3 separate regions of the Homo sapiens genome follow, and regions 2 and 3 are each linked to region 1. The links are contacts of gene promoters, found by promoter capture Hi-C in human tissues and cell types (Jung and others, 2019). All regions are on one chromosome and are shown on one strand. Each heading gives the region's core, a stretch centred on a gene start or on the middle of the fragment in contact. The rest is flanking DNA. Distances are from core to core; before and after follow the strand shown.

Region 1 (3,327 bases), core at 571-3,070:
CTGAAGAAGTGATATATATATATATTAGAAATATAGGAGAAACTTAACAGAAGTTATCTCTGGTGTGTTATCTCTGATGTTTCTGTGTGATGCCTTTCATTTTGTATTTTTCTGTCCTATTTGAATTGTATAACGTACAATATATGTATTTCCAATATAATGTTTCTAATGTATAAAACATTATTACCTACATTTTTAAAATATCAACAATAGGTATCCAGGCAGTGAGATTATGGTCCTTTGTTTTTATTTTACAGTTCTCTTTATTTTATAAACATATTATTAGGTGTCTTTGAGAGAAAATCATCAACTACTTGCAAAAAAAAAAAAAAAGACAAGTGTGGGGTCCAGAGCTTAAGAAATTCACACTTTTTGAGGGAGAACTTTGTGCCAGATACTTCTCACCAAATGCTCGCACAACATCATTTTATGATTTTTGCCCATGAGAAAACTGAGGCAACTGACACGAGGTAAATGGTCTGCTAGACAACAAATAATAGTGGCCACAACATCAAAGCCTATATTTCTTCCATCATCATATAATGCATCCAAATATTCTTCTCCAGTTGTTTCACATTGGCATATTTTGGTCTCCCCGTCTAGACTGCAAACTTCTTTAGAAGAAGGGAAACTTTCAAACACTTCATTTATGTCTTTCATTGGGTTATTAAGGCTACAATAGATCCTCAAACATGTGTTGGGTTGTATTAAACCTCTTTTGGTCTGGACTGTCCTCAAAGGACATACCCTTGTAAAAACAAAATAAACTAGCACACAAACGACAAAACTACTCTAAAGCTGTCCAAATCTAACTGTATTCCTGCACACCAAAAACTAAAGTGTAAATATATCCATATGCAGAGACTACCAACTACAGTGAGTTTTGTAATGAGTACTGTGCAACCACTGAAGAATTCCTTGGATTCACTTATCCCCCCCAACCACGCCCCCATCACCCAGGCACCACCAAAAGAAAGGAACCTCCAGTCTTCTGGTGAGGTGATGAAGAACCATAACCACGCCCCCACTTTGTCCCATCACAATAACCTGTTTTCTTGTCCTAACCGGACCCTGCACCCAAACCCATAACCCTTAATAAACAATTCAAAAGTCTCTGACCTGCAGCGAAGTGCAGGGGAGAAGACTTCCGGCCGGCCATGTCCTTTGCATTTACGTTTGCCGCGTCCACCAGCCTCTTTACCCGGGACACGTCCCCATTGCGACAGGCCTCCAGCAGTTCCCGTAGGGCCCCGCTCACTGCTGGGACCCCTGTCCCAGGTCCTGCTGCCCCAGGCCCCAGTGGTGCTGTGCTGCTAACTCCGGCCGCCTCGGGGCTCTCCGCCAAGCTCGATCCAGGGGAGGATGGAGAGGAAGATGAGGAAGAAGTCGGGGAAGAAGAGGACGACGGTGAATTGTTACTGCCACTGCCGGCTGGGTTGGGAGCGACCCCAGCGGCAGATGAAGTAGAAACCGCTGGGACCACGGGAGCGGCGGCGACGGTACAGATTGTGCTGGTGGTACTGCAACAGCTGGTACCGTCAACCGGGTCCGGGGATCGGGGCCTGTCGGGCGGATCCCGACTGCCATCCCCCTCCGGCAGCGCTAGGCCGTGCCGCGGGGAGGCGAAGGGGGCCAGGCCGCTGGCCGTGGGAGAGGCTGGGGTGGTCCCCGGGGCCAGGCCAGGGCTGAGTGGGGGAGGAGGTGGCGGCGGCGGCGCTGAAGCCCCTGGGGCGGGCTGGAGCTGTTGTTGATGATGGTGGTGATGATGCTGAGAGCGACGCGACGCCGCCATCTTCGGACTCCCCTAGCACTGTCACTGCGGCAACGGCCCCCACCGCCCGCCCTCACTTCCGACTGTCGGACCAATCAGCATCCAGCGCACAGGAAATGATGCTAGGCGGGGTAGCAGGGGCCAAAGAGAAGGAGGGAAGTATTGGGAGCTCAGAGAACAGCCAAGGGAACGGGGCGGGGCTTTGTCACTGAGAGGCGGGCTTTGTGACGTGGTGGCGGGCCGGCTGGAGAGATTTGAATGCTGGAACCAGCTTCTGCCTAGATGGGAAACATTTCCTGCATTTCTCACTTTCAGTCGGCTTTCTTTGCCCTGCTCCGCTCTGTTTCCCTTAGTCTCCCTTTGCTTGCTCCAGAGCCAGCTGTTGAGATGCAGATCAGAGCAAGCAGGGAATGTGTCCGTTATCATCTATTAAGCGTCCTTGTCTGAAAAATGGAACTTATAGTACCAACCTCACAGAATTATTAGCGGGATTAAAAGAGCTAACAGACAAAGCGCTCTGCCAGTAAAACACAAGTATAATTAGCCCGTTGGTAATTTTTTAAATTATAGTATTTCTTTTCCAGGTGTCCCCTTGAGCTCTTGTCCCTTCCCTATAATTTTTCTCACCCTATGTGCTTTAATTCCTCGTTTTTAAATGCTGGTTCAGATTGCTAGGATTGGCGTTCCAGCTCTGCCATTTGTTGTTTATATATGTACTTGCTATTTCATCACTCTATGCCTGTTTTTCTCTGTAAAATTGAAATAACAATAGTGCAATAAGTGTGAATTATTAAAATTATGATTTTTTTTTCCTATTCTGCTCTCTCTGAAATTTTATTTTTCACCCTAAGTGTAACTAATTATGAATATATTCCTTTCTTTTGAATTCTGGCTTAGCTTAGCCTCTCCCACACCCGAAACAGATAAAAACCTGATTGCTAGGCTGGTCACGGTGGCTCATGCCTGTAATCCTAGCACTTTGGGAGGCCGAGGCCGGCGGGCCACTTGAGCCCGGGAGTTCAAGATCAGCCTGGCCATCACGGCGAAGCTCCATCTCTACAAAAAATACACAGATTAGCTGGGCAAAGTGGCACATGCGTGTAGTCCCAGCTACTCAGGAGTCTGTTGGGAGGATCACTTGAGCCCGGGAGGCAGAGGTTGCTGTGAGCCGAGGTCACACCACTGCACTCCAGCCTGGGTGACAGAGGGCGGAGACCCTGTCACAAAAACAACAAGAAAACATAACAAAAACCTGATTGCTGTCCATTACTCACCATCAGGTGCTATTTTTCAGCAACTGCTTTTTCTGTCTTTCCCCCAACCTATGTATACTTTTGTTTTTCTACTATCAAAAGATGTATCCATGAATGAGATAATCCCATTGAGGACTCCATTTCATACCTACTGTTCAATAGTAAAGCAGGCATTGTAGAAGTATACAGAAACAGCATTATTCCAATAGAGTGGACACAGATGGAAATTCTGTAAGAGAAACAAGATTTAGATGAGTCAAGCAGAATATTAAACTAGGTGATAAATTGTTTCATGTGTTCATT
Region 2 (3,327 bases), core at 373-2,872, 160 kb after region 1:
AAGATGGGGTCTTAATGTGGCAGAATTGGTAGCCTTTTAAGAGGAGGAGGAGGAGAGAGTTTGCTTTCTCAACATGCACACACCAGGACAAAGCCCTGTGAGCACACAACAAGAAGGTGGCCTTCTGCAAGCCAGGAAGAGAGCCCTCACCAGAACGTGACCCAGCCAGACCTTGATCTGGAACTTCTAGTCCTCAGAACTGTGAGAAAATAAATTTCTGTTGTTTAAGTCAGCTAGCCTGATACGGCAGCCTGAACACACTGACATTTTGTTCTGTTTTGTTTTTTGAAGTTGGAAAAGTACCTTTTTTAAAAAAATTATGGGCTAGGCATAGTGGTTCACACCTGTAGTTCCAGCACTATGGGAGGCTGAGGCGGGAGGATTACTTGAGCCCAGGAGTTCAAGACCAGACCAGAATGGGTGACAGAGCAAGACCCTGTCTCTACAAAGAAAAAATTCACCAGGTGTGGTGGTACCTCATGGGAATTACATGAAATAGAACTGATCAGAATTCCTCTGTTTGTAGGGCCTAAATCTGCAACTGTGTTAAAAATAGCAAGTATGTCTGTGTAAAACTGGTATCTTTTATTCAACCTATCAATAATACTTAGGCGGCTGAGGTGGGAGGATCAGTTGAGCCCAGCAGGTCAAGGCTGCGGTGAGTTGTGACTGCAGCACTGCACTCCAACCTAGGCAATAGAGTGAGACCATATTTAAATATTATTAAATTTTTTGTGGTAAAATACACACAACAAAATTTGCCATCTTAACCATTTTATTTTTTTATTTTTTATTTTATTTTATTTGAGACAGAGGCTTGCTCTTTTGCCAGGCTGGAGTGCAGTGGCACGATCTCGGCTCACTGCAACCTCTGCCTCCCAGGTTCAAGCAATTCCCCTGCCTGAGCCCCTCGAGTAGGTGGGATTACAGGCACCCGCCTCGTGCCCAACTAATTCATCTTAACCATTTTTAAGTATATAGTTTAATAGTATTAAATACACTCATAATGTTGTTCAACCATCACCTCCATTCATCTACATAACTCTTTACCTGGTAAAACAGAAACTCAACACCCATTAAATAGTAACTCCTCATTCCCCCTCCCTTCATTCTGACAACAACCGTTACACTGCCTGTCTGTATGATTTTGATTACTCTAATCACCTCATTTAGGTAGAATCATACAATATTTTATCCTTTTGTGTCTGGCTTATTGCACTTAGCATAATGTCCTCATAGTTCATCCATGTTGTAGAACATGTTGGAATTTCTTTCCCTTTTAAGGCTGAATAATATTCCATTGCATGTATAGACCACATTTTGCTTATTCATTCCTCTGTCAATAGACACTTGGGTTGCTTCCATATCTTAGTTATTGTAAATAATGCTGCCATAAACATACGTATACAACTATCTCTTTGAGACCCTCTTTTCAATTCTTTCGGAGTGCATAGTCCTAAGTAGAATTGCTGCATCATATGGTGATTCTATTTTTAATTTTTTAAAGAACCTCCATACTATTTTCCACAGTGGCTATAACCATTTTACATTCCCACCAACAGTGCACAAAGGTTCCAATTCCTCCACATCCTTGCCAACACTCATTTTCTGTTTTTTTTTGTTTTGTTTGGTTTGTTTTTTAAGAGTAATCATCTTAATGGTAAGGAGTAGGTTGTATCTTACTGTAGTTTTGATTTGTATTTTTCTCTTTTTCTTTTTTTTTTTTTTTTTAGATGGAGTCTACTTGCTCTGTCACCTAGGCTGGAGTGCTACGGCCCGATCTCGGCTCACTGCAACCTCCATCTCCTGCGTTCAAGTGATTCTCCTGCCTCAGCCTCCCAGGTAGCTGGGATTACAGGCGCGCACAGCTATGCCTGGCTAATTTTTTTTGTATTTTTAGTAGAGATGGGGTTTCACCACGTTGGCCAGCCTGGTCTCAAACTGCTGACCTCAGGTGATCTGCCCACTTCGGTCTCCCAAAGTGCTGGGATTACAGGCGTGAGCCACCGTGCCAGGGCTATTGATTTGTATTTCTCTTATCATGGGTGATGGAAAAGTATGATTTTCACATTGCTAGTAATTTTCTATTATTTATGGACCACTTTCTTCATTTGGGGAAAATCACCAACGGGCCCTTGGTCAGATAGATGTGAAGCAATCACTGCCCCCTGTTTGAGGGGGCCCTGATGTCACCCTATTGGCTGCAATGCAGATGTTTCATGTAAGATATGGGTTCAGTGCATTCTTAGCAGGACTGAGTCTTTGCAGACTTGAAAAATGATCGTCTGTCTTGCCTCTAATTTGAATTTAGAGTAGATTGGTCCTAAAAATTGTTGGCTTTGGGAAGATGGGTGATCCTCTGTGGAAGAGGGACTCAGAAAGGATCAGCCTCTACTGAGGGCTGCTCGGTGTCTTTACTCCGTGTCATGCACTGTGTTGAGCACTTTACAGGGACTATTTCATTTAATTGGCATAAAACCCATTTAAGCTGAGTATTATTATTATCCTCATTTTATAGATGAGCAAAATAAAGCTTAGTGAAATTAAGTAACTTATCCAAGATCATAGAACTAGTGAGTCACAGGGCTAAGATCCAAGATCAGTCTGATTTCAGAATCTTTAACCAGTGTGCCCTGCTCACATGTACTCATACACATGTGTGCACATGGGCCAGGAGAGAGATGCAGATTTAGTCTTCCCTTTGCTGATCATGGAGGAAAGATTCTAGAAGTACCTAAGACTAAGTTCGGATGTTGCAATTTCATGGGTGTGCCAGAGGTTCCACTGATGTGCAGGTTATTCTCTCTCTGCCCCACTCCCTTCCCCAATCCATTCTCTGCCCATCTCCACTCTGTTCTATGCCATGGGACACTGATCCCTGTAGCCTGCAACTCTACAACCTCTTGCTGGCTGACTGCCAGGTCGATTTGATCCCAGGAGACAGTGGCAGGGCATCAGAGGTTGGAGGGAGAGGACAAATGGAAACCTCTTTTCATGACTTCAGCATCTGCCAGGTGGCCTCGCCTTTGCCTTCCAGCTCTCACCCAGCTCTGGTAACTCTATTTGTTCCTTGTCTTTCGAATTTTGGGGTGCTAATAACTTCCAACGTTGCTAATCTCTGCATATCTTTAATCTCTGATGTGTTTCCATAATCCTGCTCACACATCTGTAAATAGTTCTTCATAAAATCTCTCCATTTGAGGAATGAAGAGAGTCTTCATTCACCTGTGATGAATTCTGTGTCCTCTCAGAACCCTGAAGGATACACATGGTTTTAGTTAAGTCAAATGAGCCAGACTTTGGCAAAAGCACTGTTAACAATTGTTA
Region 3 (3,327 bases), core at 524-3,023, 130 kb before region 1:
TTCCCACAATACCATGACCCCAAAAGATGCACATAAAATTATGTTTTTGCATTTCAAGGGGGAAAATACTTAAATTGTAAGATATAAATTCAAAAGAACTGAACATATCTAAAGACGTAAATACATTTGGGAAGATATTTTAAAATCCTCACTTATTCTTCCAAGTAACTATCAACGAATCATTTTCAGTAATAAAGCTGAAAAAAAGATGGAATCTTTCTTGCCCAATAGATAATAAGCATTGAGTTATATTTTCTTTTAATCAGGTATTTCAGTTATCTATTACTACATAACAAACCACCCCAACAGCAGTGAATTACCTGGGCAGGTCTTCAGCTCTATGTGGTATGAGCTACGGTGCTAGGATGGCTGATGTCACCCTAAAGATGGATCGGGAACTCAGATGGGGTTAAATTGTCTGGGACGTGTGAATAGTTAGAATCATTAAGAAGCTTCCATACGAACTCAGGTGGGTCTGTTGGCTAGGGGCCTCAGTTCTTCATGTGGACCTCGTCACATGGCTGCTTGGGCTGCCTTATGACATGGCAGCTGGGTTCCAAGAAGAATTACAAAAAAAGAAACTAGCAGCTGCCAGGCCAACTCAGGGGCGTGTCCTGAATAGGACAGAGTATCACTTGCGCCTTATTTTATTCAAAGCAGTCCCAGGCTAAGCCCAGAGTCAGTGTGGCAGGGGGCTAGACAAGGGCATGAGTAATAAAAGGGACGGTTTATTGAGGCATCTCCAAATAACAACCTACCACATAAAGACTGTTAAAATCCTGGCCAAACACAGTATTTGGAAAAAAGTTATACTGAGAGACGGGGGTACTGATCAAGAATAATGAGAAACTCTACAACCCTAAAACTTAAATGTAGATACAAAGAATTACACTAATCCTCCATCTTTCTTGTTCTTCACTGGATGGGGTTTATGGAATTCCATATATGGCATTATTTTCAGCCAGATATTAATTTTTAATCAACACGTGTTTAAAAATGGGCATATATCTCAAGAATGTATTTCTGAATTTATAAGCTGCTAATTTAGACAAATTTATTTATTAAATGTGACACTGGGTGAAGAGAGGGGAAGGCCAAGCTCCAACTGAATTAATTAAATTATATGCTTTATAGATTACAAGACAATCTATAGGTTATTTTATCCAAAGGCAGCTGGGACAGAGCTTGGACAATAAGGACATTTAAGTGGAGAGAAGGGGAACACTGGAGTACTTAAAAGTATGTAAGTGTCCATTCTAGATACATTTGAAAGTTTCAGAAAAAATTATCAAAGGAGTAGGAATCTAATTTTCTAAAGGTTACTGTGTGCTACAAACTGTACTAGGTATACTGACCACATTATTTCACTTAATCCTCTCAAATGCCTTGTGGAAAGGGTATGGTTATTTCCATTTGAGAGTGAGTAAATTAAAAACTCTAGAGCCATAGACACACACTTGGAAAGCAGAATAGAACCCAATCCCTCTGACCTTACAGTCTATTTGCCCTATCACAGTTTTTCTATGGTGTCTTCAAGGTACAGCACTAAATTCACTAAATTCTACTTTATTTCTGATTGATTTCCTTTTGAAAGTAGTTTTCAAACACTTTACTTTTCTCTGTTTCCAGTCATCTTCATTATTAACTATTTGGAAGCAAATATTTACAGAAAGTTGACACTTAAAGAAATCCTTAAGTTTTCTGAATTAAAATCATGTTCCTCCAATTACCTGCTCATCTAAATTTGTGGTTTCTTACAGAAGGGTATACTAAATACTAAAGCGTTAAAACTAAAAGGGCCAGGAAAAAACACTGTCACCTTAAATCAGCACTTTATAACTGTATCACCGCAAAAGGAATACTGTATCATTTTAATGCATTAGCTTCAATGTCTTCCATAATGTCTTAATCATTCTACCAATGTTTGAGCTCCCCGTTAACCAGTACCATCAACCATATAGTTATCTCCCATGACACTAAGCACAGTGACCCACACATGGTAGGTATTAAGTGTTGGTGGAATGAATGAATGAAAGGAGCAGAGGGAAACCTGAAATACTCAAAATTACATTGGAGATGTTATTTTAAAAGCACCTATCAAATATTAGTTACTTTTAATTGGTGACATATACTAGTAGCAACAGTAGGCAGAGTAGATATATTCAAAGATACATATTATTTCTATTTGGAAATATGTGCAATAGTCCCTAACCCCTACCTATTGCCTATTAAGATGAGGAATGGATAATTTTGGACATTTATTTTGGAAGGGGATAAAGACACCTAGAAAAGGAGAATAACACAGAGAGGAACCACAAAGAACTCTCAAAAGAGTTGACTGTTGGACTAATTTTATTCAAATATTTATTTTCATTTATTATAAAAGGTATCCTTACGAAAATTAACACTGGAAAACAAGAGAATATTACCACCTTAAATTTAGATATCAAACAAGGCCAGAACATGTGGATAATAGCTAATAAAACATCTGATACTGATATAAAACACTGTAAAGGGAGATTAAAGATCAAAAAATCCAAGTTTGAAAATAAAGGAATAAAGAATTCTAGAAAGGCAACAACCTATTTTCAGGTTCTGGTTCACCTAATGGCAATAATGAATTGTGGACTGTTATGACTAATCATACTGGGCAGAAGGTAGAAGATGACTAAATAACATCTATGTCCCTATGTTTCTAAAAGTGGTCATCATTATAACACGTATATAATTGCATAAAAGTATCATTTTAGAGCAACAACAAAAGGTAGCATTTTAGAACAAAAAAAAATTCTGCTTTTAGGGAAAAAAAAAGCCAATAAAATTTCTAGTGTAGCCAGGAGCCAATTTTGATTTATGTGTAAAATAAAAGCATAGTAACAATATAAACTGTATAAAACCTTATTGATGTTTTATAATTTTCAGAATTCTAAAGGTTAGGAAAACAATTGTCTTTGGGAAACAAAATATTAACTTCTCACATATTACCTAATTAGATAATCATCAAGTCACAGTATAGAATTAAGAGTACTTAAAATTTACACTCTCATTGTATAATCCCACATATTACATTAAAAAAAAACCTAAAGTCTCAAACCCCCACATATCTCTAGGCAAATTCCCCACCTACTAACCACTGTATAAGAGACATTTCTTTTCCAAAAACATTTCAAAATTAACATTTTCATGGGCTTTTTAAATTTACAAACCAGGAACTGTAGTAAAAACTAAGAAAAGGGCTCAGTTAAGCAATAATACAGTAATTTAGGAAACTTCCAAAAAAGGATTCGCTTCTACGCTGTGTTCTAAAATGAAATTCAGGAAATAAAC

Evidence for each region. Contacts are between HindIII fragments. The study calls those that stand out against the background at their distance.
Region 2: a contact is called between a fragment that was not itself captured here and the fragment with the promoter of TNKS in region 1, in 1 of the 25 tissues and cell types used here (IMR-90 fibroblasts).
Region 3: a contact is called between a fragment that was not itself captured here and the fragment with the promoter of TNKS in region 1, in 1 of the 25 tissues and cell types used here (hippocampus).

Annotation. Positions count from the first base shown.
Region 1 is chr8:9,554,405-9,557,731 of GRCh38, reverse strand. TNKS (tankyrase) reads right to left here and starts at 1,820. Exons shown (of 27, transcript NM_003747.3): 1 at 1,120-1,820. The coding sequence starts at 1,792. RefSeq lists enhancers at 816-1,475, 1,476-2,137 and a silencer at 1,558-1,717. The HindIII fragment of the contact is 13,693 bases long and covers 1-3,327 here.
Region 2 is chr8:9,397,938-9,401,264 of GRCh38, reverse strand. All of the region lies in intron 1 of LOC105379231 (a long non-coding RNA gene), which reads right to left. Among named protein-coding and RNA genes, the nearest start is that of TNKS, 160 kb to the left of the region's middle. The HindIII fragment of the contact is 4,654 bases long and covers 1-3,327 here.
Region 3 is chr8:9,683,434-9,686,760 of GRCh38, reverse strand. All of the region lies in intron 5 of TNKS (tankyrase), which reads right to left. Among named protein-coding and RNA genes, the nearest start is that of MIR597, 57 kb to the left of the region's middle. The HindIII fragment of the contact is 5,513 bases long and covers 1-3,327 here.